Regions from separate parts of the Homo sapiens genome. Here regions 1, 3 and 4 are each linked to region 2. The links are contacts of gene promoters, found by promoter capture Hi-C in human tissues and cell types (Jung and others, 2019). All regions are on one chromosome and are shown on one strand. The core of a region is centred on a gene start or on the middle of the fragment in contact, and the rest is flanking DNA. Distances in the headings are between cores, read along the strand shown. Region 1 overlaps NRG3 (neuregulin 3). Region 2 holds the start of NRG3 (neuregulin 3). Region 3 overlaps NRG3 (neuregulin 3). Region 4 overlaps NRG3 (neuregulin 3).

Region 1 (4,272 bases), core at 686-3,185, 220 kb before region 2:
CTAATTTGCATCAGGTTTCTGCCACTTACAAGCTGTGCAACATAAGCCAAGATACTTGTTGACCCTGAGATGCCATGTCTTTAAGTGAACAATAGAAATCATAATAAAGGCACCTTCATAGTCTTCAACTTCATAGTAAAAGTTGATTGAGATCATGCACTTATAGCATTAGTAACAGCCTGGCACGGAATAAGTGCCAAAAAAATGTTAACTATAGTAATAATATTTTTTCTTCACTAAATTGTCCAATCATCCTAATTATTGTCATGTTTCAACCTTGAAAACTGTATACCCTTTCACACCATTTCTCCAAGTAAGATATATTGATGACTAATAGGTGCATGAGGGGACACTCAACATAATTGACTACTGGGAAAGTGCAAATCCAACTTACTGTTTCACATCCATTAAGATGGTTATTATTTAAAATAAAAACACAAAATCACAAGTGTCGGTGAGAACGTGGAGAAATTAGAACACCTATGCATTGTTGGCAGGAATGGCGCAGCTGCTGTGGAAACAGCATGGTAGTTCCTCAAAAACACTAAAAATAGAATTACCATATGACTCAGCAATTCAATTTTTTGGCATATACACACAAAATTGAAATCAGAGACTCGAATATCTGTTTGTACAGCTGGTCTTGGGAGCATTATTCACAACAGCCAAGGGACAGAGGCAACCAAATCAACTATTTAGCAGATGAACAGATAAAGTGTGGTATATGCATGCAATGGAATCCAATTCAGCCTTAAAAAGGAAGGAAATCTTGAAAAATGCTAGAACATGAATGGACCTTGAAACCATGCTTAGTGAAATACACCAGACACTGAAGGACAAATATATGATTACACTTACATGAGCTACCTAAAACAGGCAAATTCATAGAGACAGAAAGTACAATAGAGGTTACCATGGCTGCAGGTGGCATGAGGAGGAGGAGAAGGAGAAGTTATTCTTTCATGGTTACAAAGTTGTTTTTGGAGATGATAGGAAAATCGGGGACATAGACAGTGATAATAGTTACGCGACATTGTGAATGTATCTAAGACTACCGATCAATGGATAAGCCACATGTTTGAATGGTTGCACTGAAAAATATTATGTATATCTTATCACAATTTTTAAAAGGTTACAATGAAATGGAAGAAAGAGAAAAAAATAAAATTTTGCCTCAGGAGAAATTAAAAAAAAAACAAACTAGTCTTAGGTTACACTGCTGGAAGTGTGAAATCTCAGATTTTACTCAGATCTGACTCTAAAACGTTTTTGTCTTAAATGCTTCACACTGCACCGTTATGCTCCTGTGTAACAAGGCTGAGGCAGGAGTCTTTGCAACCAAACATGAAGCACTACCTTTTTCTGCCTTTTCTAACACAACACATAATGTAAGTGTACAAACAAAATTCATGAATACTTAAGCCCTTAGATACACTCTAGGATGTTTTTAGTCCCAAACCAAACGTTATTTCTGCCATGTTATCGGATTCCCATTTCAGATATAGAGTTCAAATGGTAATAAGTCTTGTTTTGCCCCCATTAACATTATTGGATACTCAGCTGAGTTCTGGTTTATGTTGTAATGTGCTCCTGACATGGTTTCAACCCCATTTAGGCAATCCACTCGTCCCTTCTTTATTCAAATATGGCAGCATCATGCTGTAAATACTTTCCTAGCACAATGGATTCTAATCCCAACGGAAATGACTGGTGCTTCATTAAAAAACAATGGAATCACCTGCTTTTTATTTTCAGTTGTTGGCATATATGTTTTCCTCATACTTTGTTGCTTTTCTCAAATTTAGTAAAATTTTAAAAATTTATTCTTAATCAACATATGTTCATCTCAACCAATTAAATAAAGTGTAGCACATAGTAGGATAGAGATCATTATATTATTGTCCTCACAGGAGAACTTTCTGATAGCTATAAACAATAAAACAGTGTACTCTAATTCAAGATATTTTCTCCAACAGTCACTAACCCAGTCCTATTGAAACTATGTATTCATTTCATACCTCACACAGGCTATTAGTATTCTCAATAAAAAATATAGTAGTCTTGGAAACCACAGCAAATTAAATGGAGAGAACTGTACATTAATAGCAATCTGCATGGTAACGTGCGTCTGTAGTCTGCAGATGCCTGTTACAGGACTGTACTTCACTACAGTATGTAATGTCAAAAAGAGAAACCCACTTATATATTATGTATTCAGAGTCAGAAAGCTTTAAAGTCAGAAGGGAAATGTGACTCTGTCAATTTCAACCCCACCATGCCATGGAAGAGGGCAAAGAGCTGGGGCAGGGAACTGACTTGCCTATGATCACAGAACTGAGGAGGGACCTCACTGGGGCAGGAGCCTAGAAGGCTAGACCAATTTCATAAGTGTAATGCTTATGTTGGCTAAGACCATAAAATGCCCACATGCCTTCCTATTGTGGAGAAAATTCTCTTAAAAGAAAGATTGAAATGTTTAAATCTACACATCTTCAACTTTGCATAATATCTTTTTACAAAGTCTGAATCAATAAGGTATGGAATCAGTTTGCAGCTTGATCATCTCAAAGAGAATTAGATACTAAAAACAAACAAACCAAAAACTTAACAAATATTCAACTCGTTTATTAGAGAACTAAAAGAGGTCACTGGATTGAGAGTTGCCATGACAACTGTCAGGCAAGAATGAACAGAGGTTTGCTCCTAGCTATCTCATTGTCTAAGAGCTGGGAATTAGGCTCACCACTCCACCCCCTGGCTGCTTTCTCCTCTCTGGCTCTCACTTCCTTCCCTGACAGCCCAGATTCTTCCATATCCATCTCCATATCATGCAAAGAAATAACCTCTGTTAGGCAGAACACAAGGGAAGCACAGATTGCCTCATACCAGCAGTTATAATCAATAAGAACGCTCAAGTGAAACAAGCTGCCACTGCATTGTGAAGCTTAAAGCAGAAAAAAAGTAAAGCTCTAATACAAAATGTAAGAAAGGCCACTATTTTAACAAAAATTGTGTCTTTTTAAATGCTAATTTGCTACTTATAAATTAGCATTTCAATAACAAAATGCAGTAATATGGCAATCTTTTACTAGCATTAACTTATTTGCCCATTGCTCACTAAAATTCCTAAAACTAACTGTAGACTTGTACCTGGATTTGAAATAAGTCCCTGAAAATAAAGATCCAGCATCCCAAACCTGAATCATATAATTTTCATCATTTGACATTTCATTTTCATACTTTGTTGATTCTTTACAAAAAAAAAAATCTTCTCTGCTGGTTTTTAAGTTGAGCACCCACTAGGGAGGGATGATAATTTTCTCTGACTCTGGCTGATTATGGCAAAGGTACAACGATGTGAAGGGCATATTACAAAACAAAATGCTGACACTGATTTTGACCCACTTCAAGTCAAAACGTAAATTTTGTTTATGACTAAAATTGAAATAAGCCTGTCAGGGTAGCATATATAGAAATTGAATAACTGTATTGGGGAAAAGTCGAGTACAGCCAGTCACAGCTCCCTACTTCCTGTCTTCAATGTCTATTAAATACCGAGCTGAGGGAGATAAAGTTTTAAAACTTTGTATAGTCATATACAAAGGAAATTTATTCTTCCCCGGTCTGATTCTCATCTTCTCTGCTTAGTGTCACAGCCTGTGCATTCAAAATCAAAGGAACCCTTTGCACATGAAAAGAAATGCCAAATTACTTACATAAACAGAGCATTCAAGTTATGCATGAAAGGCTTTCAATTCTCACAACATAGACAAATGTATCTCTACAAATCTGGACACCATTTAGAAAAACAGGAGATACTGCATTTATATCAATAGTTTGCCGTTGGGCTGTAGACACATTAATTTGTCCAACTATGAACATATGAATAAACTACAATTGTACTCTTGTACCAAAGAGAAACAGGATCAACTCAAGTTGGGTATTGAGTAGTACTCTTAGTGAAAAGTGAGAGAAATCACAGTCCAAGTAGGCTTAAGTTAAATAAAAAAAGAAATGAAAGAAGCTTTGAAGGCAGGAAATTAAGAAGGAAGAAAGGAAGGAGAAAAGAAAAAGATGTAAAAGAAAAAGAAATCAATTGACCCATATAACTTGAGAAGTAGGAAAGTAGGGAATCGTCTTTCTCTACATCCTACAGGGAAGTAGAATGCACCATGTAATCATCATGAATCAGTTTCTCTCCTTCACTTTACTCTGTTTCATCCCAGGCATTGGGGAAGAGCAAGTTGAGGACAGGCTCTCCAGACCCTACCT
Region 2 (3,997 bases), core at 707-3,206:
AGCTATCATGCTTTGGGTATACTGGCTCATACTGAGCCCAGGTTGAAGATGCTACATTCTAACGGTGACATGTTTCCAAACGGTTGGATGTTCTCACCCTTGAGTGCAGAAAACTCTCAACTCGTCTATATTTTTCAGGCACAGAGGGAGAGGAGATAAGGTTCACACCCCACCTTTGGGAACGGAACAAAAGCAAAGGCTTGGCAGGGCTGAAAAAAACTCCTCCTTCGTCAGGACCCTAGAGGTGGCAGCTCTGCAGGGCTCCCTTCATATTTCCTCCTAGTTAACTCACTCTCGGCGGTCACAGAATCTATGTCTACACCTTGGAATGGCCACAGGCAGGCTAGGAGGTCAGTTTAGCCCTTTGCCTTGGATCGCCTCCTTTCCCCAAGTCTCCCAGTGGCTTCTAATTAACCCTTTCTGGTTCCTGCCCAGGTCAGGGCTGCTGGAAGCGTCCTCAGCAACATTCTACCATTATCTCCATCAACTCGTCACCCCACACAAGGACATAACTTCCTTTTGTGGTTTATCGTCGGTCAATTTGCATGTGCTTTGCTTTCTTTCCTTCCTACCGGCGGGCGGAGAAGGGGCTCAGTGCCTTCGGGAAGGCCCTCTCTCCCTCCCTGGCCCTCTACTGGAGCGGGATCCGGCAGCTCGCCAGCAGGTCTGCAGTGAGGAGGGATCGCACTCGCGTTAACCCTTTGAAGGGAGTTGGGAGATCTGTTCTCACTTGGGACCCGCTAAAGTGGGGCCAGTGGAGCCTGACAATCTCCCTCCCGTTCCTACACGCCCCCACCCCCCCAGAACCAGAGCAGGCTGGCACCTTCTTCCCCGCTGGTGGCCAGTTTTAATCAGCTCTCACTCTGCCCCAAACCTGGGATGGGGGAGGGGGCTTGCTAGAAAACAGGCGGCGAGGGAAAAAGACAGCAGGAGGGCAGAAGGGAAACTCAGTAGTAAATCATAGTTGAGACACAGTGTTTACTTACGAAATTTGGGGCTGGTGCTAGTTTCTGGTGTGGTGGTGGTAGCGGAGGAGGAAGAAGAGGAAGAAGAGGAGGCAGCATCCTGAAAGGGAGACAGGGTCCAGGAGGGAGTAGAATCGTGAAGGTAGGAGGAGGTAGCGTATGCCGCAGTAGGCCAGGAGGGCATTGCCTGGGTACTTGGAGTTCCTGGCACCGGGGGTCGGGAGCCCAGCGTGCTGCTACTGAAGAACGGGGCCGTGGTGGACGGGACCGTCGCAGGGGCCGCAGTGTTCCGTGCTGTGGTGGAGCGCGGGCTGGCCCGGATGGGCACCCGGTGCCCGGGGAAGCGAGTGGGCGCCCGCGTGATGGTGGTCAGGCGAGTGCTAATCCGGTTGGGCGTCCTGGAGGAGGCGGCACCCCCGGCGGAGGGGGTGGCGGGGGACGTGGTGGAAGTGGTAGTGGTGGTGGTCTCCATGGCCTTGGGGAAAGAGCTGGGCTTGGAGAGGAAGAAGGGGTCCTGGCCCATCCCCTTGGAGTCCACTAGGTCGGTGGGCACGTACTCCTTGACGGAGCCCACCACGATCCATTTGAGAAGCATGAGGCTGAGCCCCAGGCCGATGAAGCCGATGAACAGAGGTACCACGCACAGCCACGTCTGCTGCCGGTTCCACACGATGCAGTCGCTACAGCGTAACTCCCGGGGGGGCTCGGCCGCCCCTTCGCCGCCGCCGTCCGGGCCCCCGCCCGCCGCTGCCGCCGCCGCAGCCGCCGCGGTGCCCTCCTCGGCCGAGGCGGCGGCTGCCGAAGCGGCACCAGGTGGCGAGGCAGCGGCCGCCCCTTCACTCATCCTAGGAGCCGGTCTTCACCTTCGCCCCCCCGAGGGCCGCGGCAGAGGCATGGGGCCGCGCGGGCCGGGCGCGGGCGCGGGCGCGGGCTCCGGCGGCGGCGGCGGGCTCGGGCGCAGGCAGCGGCCGCGGCGGCCGCATGCAAATCCGCTCCCTGCCCCCACGCCCCTCCCCCCGAGAGGCGGGCGGCGGGCGGGGAGGAGAGGAGCGGGGGAGGGGACGGGGCCGGGGAGGGGGCGGTAAGGAGCTCGGAAGAGGGGCGAGACGGGCCCCCGGCGCCTCCGGTCGGTCAGAGAGCGGCGGGGCGCGTCTGCAGCCCTCCAAGCCGCCTCCTGCGCGCCGGGTCCCCGCGCCCGCTGCTGCTGCTGCTGCCCGCCGCCTGCGTGCGCTCCAGGAGCGCCGACATCCTCGGGGCACCGCGCCCAGCCCGCTCCCTGGGGCGCCCGCTCGCGCCGCGCCTGGGCCTCGCGCCGCCTTCAGTGGCCCCGGCGGCCGGTCGCGGGGTGCCGGGTGCCCGCCACCCGCATTCCGACACAGAGGGCCTGCCTGGCCGCCGCGATCTTCGGCGGCTGCTCCGCGAGCCCGGGCGGTGAGGTGCACCTGTTCTTCAGCCGGCCCGCAGCCAACCCTCGGCCAGCACTCTTCTGGAGAGACCAATCCCAGCGCAGCGCGGAGGGCTAGCGGCCCGGCTCGCCTTGCTCCAGCCGTTCGCTGCTGCGCGCCGCTGCCGCCGCCGCCGGAGAGTCAAACTCCAGCGAACAGCGCCGCTGTCGCCGCCGCGAGCCAGGGGCTGGGGGCGCACCGGGCGCCCGCGGCGGGTGCGGTCTGACCCGCCTCCGAGGGACCCAACAAGCAGGCAGAGGATCGGAAATCACGCCCCGGCGCCCTGCCCGGTTGAGCGTGGGGGACGGAAGCGGGAGACTGCGTCGGGGGTCCCGGGGAACGCAGACCCCGGGCTGAGGGCGTCTCCAGACGGGCTCTGGCTGCCAGGCTGGTGCGTGTGTGTGTGCAGAATCGCCGCGGCGGGCTGGGATTCGGGCAGAGTAGCGCCTCCCACTAGCAGCTAATGCTGGTTTCTTAATGCACACAAGATAGATAAATGATCCAAGCAAACCCCCGTTTGCGGTGGGGTGGGGGGGCAAAAGCAGCTTCCGACCGATTGTGAGTCGTCTCCTGTACGGATCCAGTGGGGTCAGAGACTGACGCTGCTGGGCGAGGGGGCGGGGGCGGATGCGGGTGGGAGGGTGCCTGTGCCCTCCCCTGCCGGATGGCGGTGCGGCTGGATGGAAGGCCACCTTTGCCTGAGTTCCTGAGAGATGCAGGTGGAGCAGAAGACCTTTGTATAATCAGACCTGTCAGATATCTCCAAGCCATTTATGTGAACTTGCCTTAAAATATTGTCTTTACCTGTAAATGTACGCACAGGTACACACGTTACAAGGCAAGTGTTTGTGAGAGGTAAATATGAAAGGATTTGGGGTTGGACTCCCAAATTCCGTTACTGCTTTCTTCCCTTGGCTGGGGAGGCACCTGTGTACCTATTTCTCCAGCGCTGTGTGGTACCTGCCGAGGCAAGGGGCAAAGAGCCAGTGTTAGCATGACATATGCCGACAGTGCAAAACCTTGCTTGCCAACTCTCCCCAGATTTCCTGGTCTAAAGTGAAAACCGAAGAGGAGGGGTTTTTATTTACAAGCGTTAAGAATATGAGGTTGAGAAAGGCAACTTTCTAATACATTCCCCCAGCACTGTCTGATTGGCGTGGATGATGGAGCCCGCATTCTCTTGTCCTGTGATAGTCTCCACAAAGATGAAGTTTTCAAGGTATCCATTTTATTCACAGGGGGAGAGCCAAACGTTACACTGAAGAGACTGCAGAGAGCAGAGGATGCATTGAAACAGGAAGCCCCTGGGGTTTGGTGCCTACCAGAGTACTTTGCACAGACAAGGTTAATAAATTATTTTTGATGGCAGTAATGCGGCTGTCACCTCTTTCAGCTATAACATTGAGACTTTCCCCATAGGAAAGCTTTTGATTTTTAGTTTGATGGAACATGCCTTAATCTAGTAGTGCTGAATTATGGTTCCAAAAATTGTAAGCAAAAAAAAAAAAACCAGAATCCTTTGAATCCAAATTCCTTTAGCTTTCCAATGTAAAGCACTGCCATCTTAAGTAAAAACTGACCCAGTAT
Region 3 (3,816 bases), core at 720-3,219, 180 kb before region 2:
AACAAAATTATACATACGTATTTGATAAAGAACCAAATAACTCTATAGAAATGAAAAATGTAACGTTAAAAAGACTATCAGATATGGCTTAAAGGAAAATTAGTACATTGAAAAAATATCTGAAGAAAATACAAGAAATGAAGTACACATATAAGGGGTGATGGAAAATAGGAAAGAAATATTTTAAGGAAAGGATAATAGAGTGGAAAGATCCAACAAGCAGTATAAAGTGCAAAATCCTAATAGAAAATAAAGACAATGATTATTTGGAGTAAAAATTCATGGGAATTTTCCAGAATTAATGAGAGATAACAATGATCAGAATCAGAAGGTTGTGAATTCTACACGTAGATAAATCCTACTGAAATTGCAGTGTAAAAATAAATAGAAGTTTTAAAAAACAGCTGTGGGAAAAAAAGTCATCCACAATAAACAATAATTAGACTACTGGCTTCTCAATAGCAAACACAAAAGTCAGAAAGCAATGGAACAATATTTCGAAAATGCTAAGAGAACATAATTGTTAACCTGGAATTCTAGCCAGAAAAGCATCTTTGAAAGCTACAGTCAAAATAAAAACATTTCTATTTAAACAAAAACTCAGAGCTAACCCCAACTAGACTGTTAAAAAAGAAAATTTCAATGAGATACTTGAAAAATCCCAGATGGAATGTCATAGCTGTAAGACTGTAGTTCCTGGCTCTGTGTCACATCTACACTGTTCCTGTCAAAATTCTCAGATTTAAACAAGTTTGACGATCCTTCCAATACTTCAGCCTCTCCATTCTTTGATTTCCTGTGGCTTTATTCTGCAATCATCTTTAGCCCCTCACTTCTATAATTGTATCTAAATCTTCTCATTACCAACAACTAACCACTCCATCCTTTTAGCTTCAAAGATTCCTATCAGAGTGAGCCTATGGCATTCCTTTCAGTAGCATAACACTAATTTTTTTTTTCAAATACACTAATCCTTTCACCATTTTACTACCATATTCAACTCTTTAAAGTCATCACACCCACCTGACCAAGCTTAGAATCTCCAGCATGCTGTTTTAATAATTCTCTTGCTCAAGTATTAAACTCCTTAACCATCTCTCATGCCATTGTACTGACCAAGAAAAAATGTCTAACTCGCTAAACAAAATTCTCCATTATGCTATAGTCACACTCCCACACAGGTACTATGATGGGACAAAATTTTTTAAAAGGCACAAGGTTGAATGATTTTGCTTTCCACACATGACCATTAGCCTCAAGTGGTCTTCGAAACTGCCTGGGAAGATTTCCGTTTTCCATTCACTATCCTATTCCCTTAAAGAATGATTTCACATCTTCTCCTCTGAATGACCTGTGCTTCTTATTTCCTAAGAACAAAAGGAGAAATTCAAAGGGAACTCACACAAGCCTACCATGCATTTCACTCCTTAATCTGAACCATTACAGATAAACCTGCCTTTATCTCCAGTCCCTTCACTAGAGTGCCTGTTCCAGCCCTTCTCATCGACATAAGATTGTTGCATATTAACTCCCCTTCTCTTTCTTGCATTGTAAATTTTTCATCGCTTTACAAATGTGCTGTCATTTTTCCCATTTTGAAATCCCTTCCTTGTGTCTACTTCCTATTCTAATTATCACCCTATCACTTTGCTCTTTGCTCCTTTTATAGAAAAAATCCTCAAAACAATTAGATAAAAAAATTAAATAATTACCACCAATTTGCCTTTTTCCATTTTCTCTTTACCTCACTCCAGTCAGTTTTTGCTCATCACTACACTAAAACTGTTTTTTGTTGTTGTTCTTTTTTTTTTTTTTTTGAGACGGAGTCTCACTCTGTCGCCCAGGCTGGAGGGCAGTGGTGCAATCTTGGTTCACTGCAAACTCTGCCTTCTGGGTTCAGGCCATTCTCCTGCCTCAGCCTCCCGAGTAGCTGAGATTACAGGCGCCTGTCACCATGCCTGGCTATTTTTTTTGTATTTTTAGTAGAGATGGGTTTTCACTGTGTTAGCCAGGATTGTCTCGATCTCCTGACCTCGATCTGCTCGCCTCGGCCTCCCAAAGTGCTGGGATTACAGGAGTGAGCCACCGCGCTCGGCTTCTTTTTTCTTTTTTCATCAAGATCACCAATGACCTCTCTATTTCATTTTATTTGACCTGTCAGCAGCAGCTGAGACTGTGGCTCTTTTTTCCTTCCTTTTTGCTTTTCTTTTCTGTTCTTTTCCTTTCTTTTCTTTCTTCTTTTCCCTTCTTTCCTTTCTTTCTTTCTTTGATTTGTTTTAAGAGAGACAGAGTCTTGTGCTGTCACCCAGGCTAGAGTGTGCTGGTATGATCTAGCTCACTGTAACCTTGAACTTCCCGTTATATTTCACATGTTCAAGCAATCCTCCTGCCTCAGCCTCCTTAGTAGCTGGGACTACAGGCACACACCACCACACCTGGCTATTTTTTTTTATAGATCTGGGGTGTCACTGTATTTCCTAGGCTGGTCTCTAACTCGTGGGCTCAAGAGATCCTCCTGGCTCAGCCTCATTCTTTCTTAATTCAAACACTTCTCTTCCTTGGCTTTCTCAATACTAGACTTTTCTGATTTTCTTTCTCTTGTCACTCGTTTTCATTCCCCTTTGCTGGTTCCTCCCCACTTCTCCAGCCTCTAAATATTGGAGTCCCTTGGAGCTCAATATTTGGATCTATTCCTCCATTCCCCATGCCAATACCATATTCATATATCTAACTGCCTACTTGTCAGCTCAACTTAAATATCTAAAAGTCATTCCAAATCAAGACCCTTATGTGCTCCACCCACATCTAAATGAGAATCCTGTACAGTCCTCCCCATCTCAATTAATAAAAATCCTACTCTTCCACTTAGTCTTTTATGCACAAAGTCTTCGAGTCATCCTTGACTCCTTTCCTCCATCACACCTTACCACTAAGCCATGAGCAAATCCTGTCACTTCCACCTTCAAAATATACCCAGAATCCAGCCACTTCTCAATATCTCTGGTCTAAGCTGTCATCATTTCTCACCTCAATTATTGAAAAAGCTTTCTAATGGTCTCCCTCCTTCTGCCTTACTGCACCACAGTCTATTTTCAGAACAACAACTAGAGTAATCCTTTTAAAACATAAATCAAATCACTTCACTCCTCTGTACAATACCCTCTAATGACTTCCCCTGTACCTCAGAGTAAGAGCCAAAATTCTCACTGTCACTCTTAAGGCCTCTGTATGTTTAGAACCCTATTACTTCTCCGACCTCATATCCTACCATTCTCTAACCTTTGCTTACTTTGCTCCTAATAGGTTAGCCACCAGCTGTTCCCTAAAGATATCAGACATGATTCCACCCCATGAGCTTTCCATTTGCTGCGCTGCAGCTTTAAATAATTTCCCGTTACATTCCACATGATTTACATTCTCACCTCATTCAAATAATTGCTCAAATACCTCTTTTCCACTGAGCTCCTTCCAAACTATCCATTTAAAATTGCACACCCAACACTCCCTGCACTTCTTCCAGGCTTTACATACCATCACAATGTTTATGTCCTTACAAAAAAAATGTTTATTTCACTTATGATTTTATAGTATTACTATCAGTTTCCTCCAACTAAAATGTATTTTCCAAGAGGCCAGGAATTTGAGTGTGTTTTATTCACCTGTTTGTCCATTAAAAACTCATGCTCTCCTGAAAGTTGTAGAGATGATGCTAGGAAAGAAGCCACATTTCCCAATGCCCAGTGCATCCAAGCAATGTCATTCCATGAATTCTCAACAATGGAATATAGGTGAAACTGATCTGAGTGTCTTCTGGAA
Region 4 (4,037 bases), core at 268-2,767, 160 kb before region 2:
TTAGGCAAAGTTCAGTCCTCATGGATAAAAAAGAAAGATATTATGAAAGATTACATATTACATATATATTGTATATATAACATATATGTATATAAGTGTATATATATGTATATATGTCTGTGTTTGTGTGTGCATGTGTATACATATGGGTATATTTGTGTATACTATACATGTATACATATGCATGGATGTATATATATGTTTGAAAAATACTGAAAGTTCCTCCATTGGATTTGTACTGTTGAAAGACGGTGGTGGAATTTAGTGCTGCATGTGGAAAACATTAATTTCCAAGCTTAAGTTTCCTTCAAAATGTATTAAAACGAAATTAGAAAATGGCAGAGCAATGTATTCACCTAAAATTTTATCAACTTTTATTTCCATAGTGCAATAATGTAAAGAACAAGTGTTCTGAGGATAGACCTAGGTATGAATCCTCCTTCTTAACCCTTATTAACTTTGTGCTGTGGAGCAGTATTTAATCTACATGGGCCTGCTTAATAATATACTTCCACTATTTGTGTCTGGGTTACTTGACACAATTCATGGCAGAAGTAGATAGTGAATACTTTCTTCCCATATCCCTGAACAGGGATTGCAAAGAATGAGGAAGGATTGAAGAGGTGACCTGGGCAGTGATGCGTCAGGAGAGACCATGTGAAAAGAAGAGAGAATACTTAGACCTGAGCTGGCAGAAATGATAAACTTATTTTCCAGTCTTCCTAAAGATCACTCCTGGGATCAAGAACACCTCCCTCCATAAATTAAGGCTAATTCTAATGCAAAGATTCCTGATTTTATCTCAAGGGAGCTGATGGACATTTGGAAAAGCCCAGTGAAGCTAAGTAGCAATTAATGACGAGTTCACTGTAAGACCTTGGGTTCTCAAATGACTAAAGAGAAAATATCATGCCTTGGAAATTAATGACTGCATTCTGTTAATCATCACACTAACTTGCTACTGAAATTTTAAAATGCCACATTTCCCCAGAGCTGAAGCTATACCCTAGTGCCACTTCCATAATATTTACTACTATCCCCAATGCGGCACTGTAAATTCCACTCACAATTATTTGGCTCCCATTTGGTAAGTGAATAGTCTCTGATACTGAAATCGAATTTCATGGCTAATAGGCTCTCTGATTACTAGGAATTGTTGGTATTTAATTTAAAAAATGTTGCTCAGCCAAGACAGTCATTATTTTCTAATGGAAGTTGGATCATTTCATGACATTCTTTCCTGCTACTGCTGGGGCATTGGCAGCGCTAATCATCACTCACAAACAGGCTGCTTCGCATTGGAACTTGGTTGTAAAATATAACTAATGAGAACTTTTCCAGGAGTTTAAGCTGCATAATATCTTATCCTCTTTATATAATACACCTGTATATTTTTAGGGATTAGGCAACTTTGATGCCTGAAAAAGTATTATCAGAACACATTTCAAAACAAAATTATACAACTGTGCATTGTTTCCATAGACTTCCTTAGCACACTCCTCTGAGCTCAGTGGGGCCTAACTGCTTCATAAAACAACCTGAAAATAGAATACATGGCCTCTCTCTTCCTCACTAGGCTAGTGTTGATCAGGGAGGACAAGTGGAGTGCTCAAGAAGTCAAACATGGAAAAGAGGATGACAGAAACCAGTTTGATGAACTGGGAGAGACAGAACAGAGACACATGTGAAGTATCAAGCTGCAGGGAAGAAGCCAAGACAAAACAAATGTTCAGGTGGTAGTCCCAGAAGCAAACAGATGAATGAATGAGGCTGGGTCACTGGGATTAACTACCACTAGGCTCTGGCCAGAAGTTCCTTTTATGCAGTGCCTCCAGCTATTAATAAAGATCAAATTCACTCCATAAAAGCCATGTCTAGGCTTGGCAAATGGAGTCTTGAATGGCTCTTTGAAGAAAAAACAAAACAAAACTCATGGGTTGTGACTTCTAGTAGTCTGAAATTGAGTCCTCATCTTCTTACTTATGAGCATTGCCCCTTTTCTTGAGTTATGTAACTGCTCCAACCAGCTTCAACTGCAAAGTGGGTAAAATGGTAAAAATGACCATCTTAGGGTTGCAATGAGAAGTCAATGAGACATCTTATGATAAAGGGTTAGATACAGCCTGGTGTTTGGAAAGGGCTCAGGACAGTTGGTACTATTAACATGTGATCCCGTGTATAGACAGTAAAGGACACTACAATAGGAAAAAGTGATTTGAAGAAACCATTATGAAATAAGCTTGGTTTACATTTTTCAAAAGGAATTTTACAAATGTAAGTAATTCAGAATGCTCAGAACTCTTAATGTTGGGTGTGCTTTCAGTTTATAAAAGATTTTTAAACAATTAGTGAAAGATTAAATCTCTTGGGTATCCCATAATGAACAAAAGCAAGATTTTAAGATTTTTACTGGGTGTAGATTACTAATTTCAAAAGCATATTTGGGTTTTCCGAGATTTGAATTCTTTCTTCTTTTTTTGCTCTCTCTCTCTCTCTCCCCCCTCCCCACACTAAGATTCCTTTCCACGACTTTTGAGGCATTCATGAGCACCTTCTGTATGCCACAGAGACCCAACCCTTACGAAGTTGACTTACTTAGGAGTATTCATAAACATGGCATACACACACTATGTCCCCAGTTTGCCAAATTCTTGAACACACAGTTTTCCCCTTAGTTCTCAAAACAACCCTGGAAAGCCCGTGTGAGGCAGATGCCATGAATATTGTAATTAAAATAAGAGAAAACTGAGGTTCACCAAGTTTAAGTGCCATGTTGAAAACACACTGCAACCTGAAGTTGGAATAAGGCCTCATCGTGATGTCTTCTAGTACTGTGCTCATTCATATGAGATCCTGCCAATGCTGTTAGACCTGTTTAAAAGACCATGAGTTTATTAGAAAAAAATCGATTTTTCAAACCGTTTGAAAGCAATTTGAATAATGTGAACAAAGAAGGGAAAAGGAGAGAATTTTCTTCCTACCTTGGATCAGGGACAGGATACAGCCTCTCTTAATTTTTTGGGTGGAATGTGTCATGTGCCTACACCAGAGACAATGCAGTTGCCTTGGAATTTCTGTAGCTTGCCTTTGGCCCTAGTGCCATGGAGACCAGACTTCAAACTGCTGAGCTCCACATTCTGCCCTGATGGAGCTGGGCTTGGTGCCCAGTAAAAGTACAGAGGATCCTTGTGCCATGACTGTTTGGCCAGCCCTAGTGCCAGGGGGCTGTCTGGCAGTGCTCATAGTTCTCTGGAGTGCAGCCAGGATCTGCCAGGCAGTCTGACTCCATCCAGAAGCTTCTCAACCAGATGAAGAAGTGATGTCTGTGATCTGCTTTGGGGAGGGACTTCTCAAGTAACTGTGACTTAAAATATACCCTGCCTGACTCAGAGGGGCACTGTCATCTTGGAATTCAAAGTAAATCAACAGTCTGTCACCTAAATGGAACAGAAACTATGTTGGTGATTATAAATTATAATCAAATTCATACAGTGATTAATAAAACAGCGTGGTAGTAGTCTGATCACCTTTATGGTGAATCTGGCTATTGACATGTTATAGCAATTGCTACCCCAAGACCTGTTCGTTAAACAGTGACCTTGAACTCGGCATTAATGTGGCACCTTTCCCCCTCTATACAAAACAAAACCAACAAACAAATAAGCAGTGCCGGGACAGGAATGGGTGATCAGAATTTAGTTATAGATGTAAAGACCTATGGAGAGTTTCTATTCAATGGGTATAGAGTTTCAGTCATGCAAGTTACAAAAGTTCTAGAGAACTGCTATATAACACTGTGCTTATAGTTAATGCTGTACTATACACTTATAAAATTTCTTAAGAGTAGGTCTCATTTATGTGCTACTTACTACAACTTTAAAAAATATGAAGGATATTCTTCCATGGGAAAAAAACCATGCCTTTATTTTAGCATCATATAACATAAAGCATAAGCTTTGAATCATAAGGGCTAAGCTTAAATGCCAGTGCAACCCCTTACAACGAGGAAGTTATTTAATCTCCCCGAGCCTGGTTTC

The links. Contacts are between HindIII fragments. The study calls those that stand out against the background at their distance.
Region 1: a contact is called between a fragment that was not itself captured here and the fragment with the promoter of NRG3 in region 2, in 2 of the 25 tissues and cell types used here (dorsolateral prefrontal cortex and hippocampus).
Region 3: a contact is called between a fragment that was not itself captured here and the fragment with the promoter of NRG3 in region 2, in 2 of the 25 tissues and cell types used here (mesendoderm cells and thymus).
Region 4: a fragment that was not itself captured here is called in contact with the fragment with the promoter of NRG3 in region 2 in 3 of the 25 tissues and cell types used here (dorsolateral prefrontal cortex, hippocampus and neural progenitor cells).

The regions. Positions count from the first base shown.
Region 1 is chr10:82,087,988-82,092,259 of GRCh38, reverse strand. All of the region lies in intron 1 of NRG3 (neuregulin 3), which reads right to left. Among named protein-coding and RNA genes, the nearest start is that of NRG3-AS1, 140 kb to the left of the region's middle. The HindIII fragment of the contact is 3,099 bases long and covers 386-3,484 here.
Region 2 is chr10:81,873,153-81,877,149 of GRCh38, reverse strand. NRG3 (neuregulin 3) reads right to left here and starts at 1,956. Exons shown (of 9, transcript NM_001010848.4): 1 at 987-1,956. The coding sequence starts at 1,809. LOC124902549 (a long non-coding RNA gene) reads left to right here and starts at 2,632. Exons shown (of 2, transcript XR_007062377.1): 1 at 2,632-2,801; 2 at 3,649-3,778. RefSeq lists an enhancer at 245-1,007. The HindIII fragment of the contact is 10,350 bases long and covers 1-3,997 here.
Region 3 is chr10:82,053,478-82,057,293 of GRCh38, reverse strand. The region is part of intron 1 of NRG3 (neuregulin 3); the gene reads right to left. LOC124902472 (a long non-coding RNA gene) reads right to left here. Exons shown (of 2, transcript XR_007062219.1): 2 at 2,239-3,816. Among named protein-coding and RNA genes, the nearest start is that of NRG3-AS1, 180 kb to the left of the region's middle. The HindIII fragment of the contact is 4,528 bases long and covers 1-3,816 here.
Region 4 is chr10:82,036,437-82,040,473 of GRCh38, reverse strand. The region is part of intron 1 of NRG3 (neuregulin 3); the gene reads right to left. It overlaps LOC124902472 (a long non-coding RNA gene), which reads right to left. Exons shown (of 2, transcript XR_007062219.1): 1 at 2,982-4,037; 2 at 1-2,871. Among named protein-coding and RNA genes, the nearest start is that of NRG3, 160 kb to the right of the region's middle. The HindIII fragment of the contact is 4,896 bases long and covers 1-3,965 here.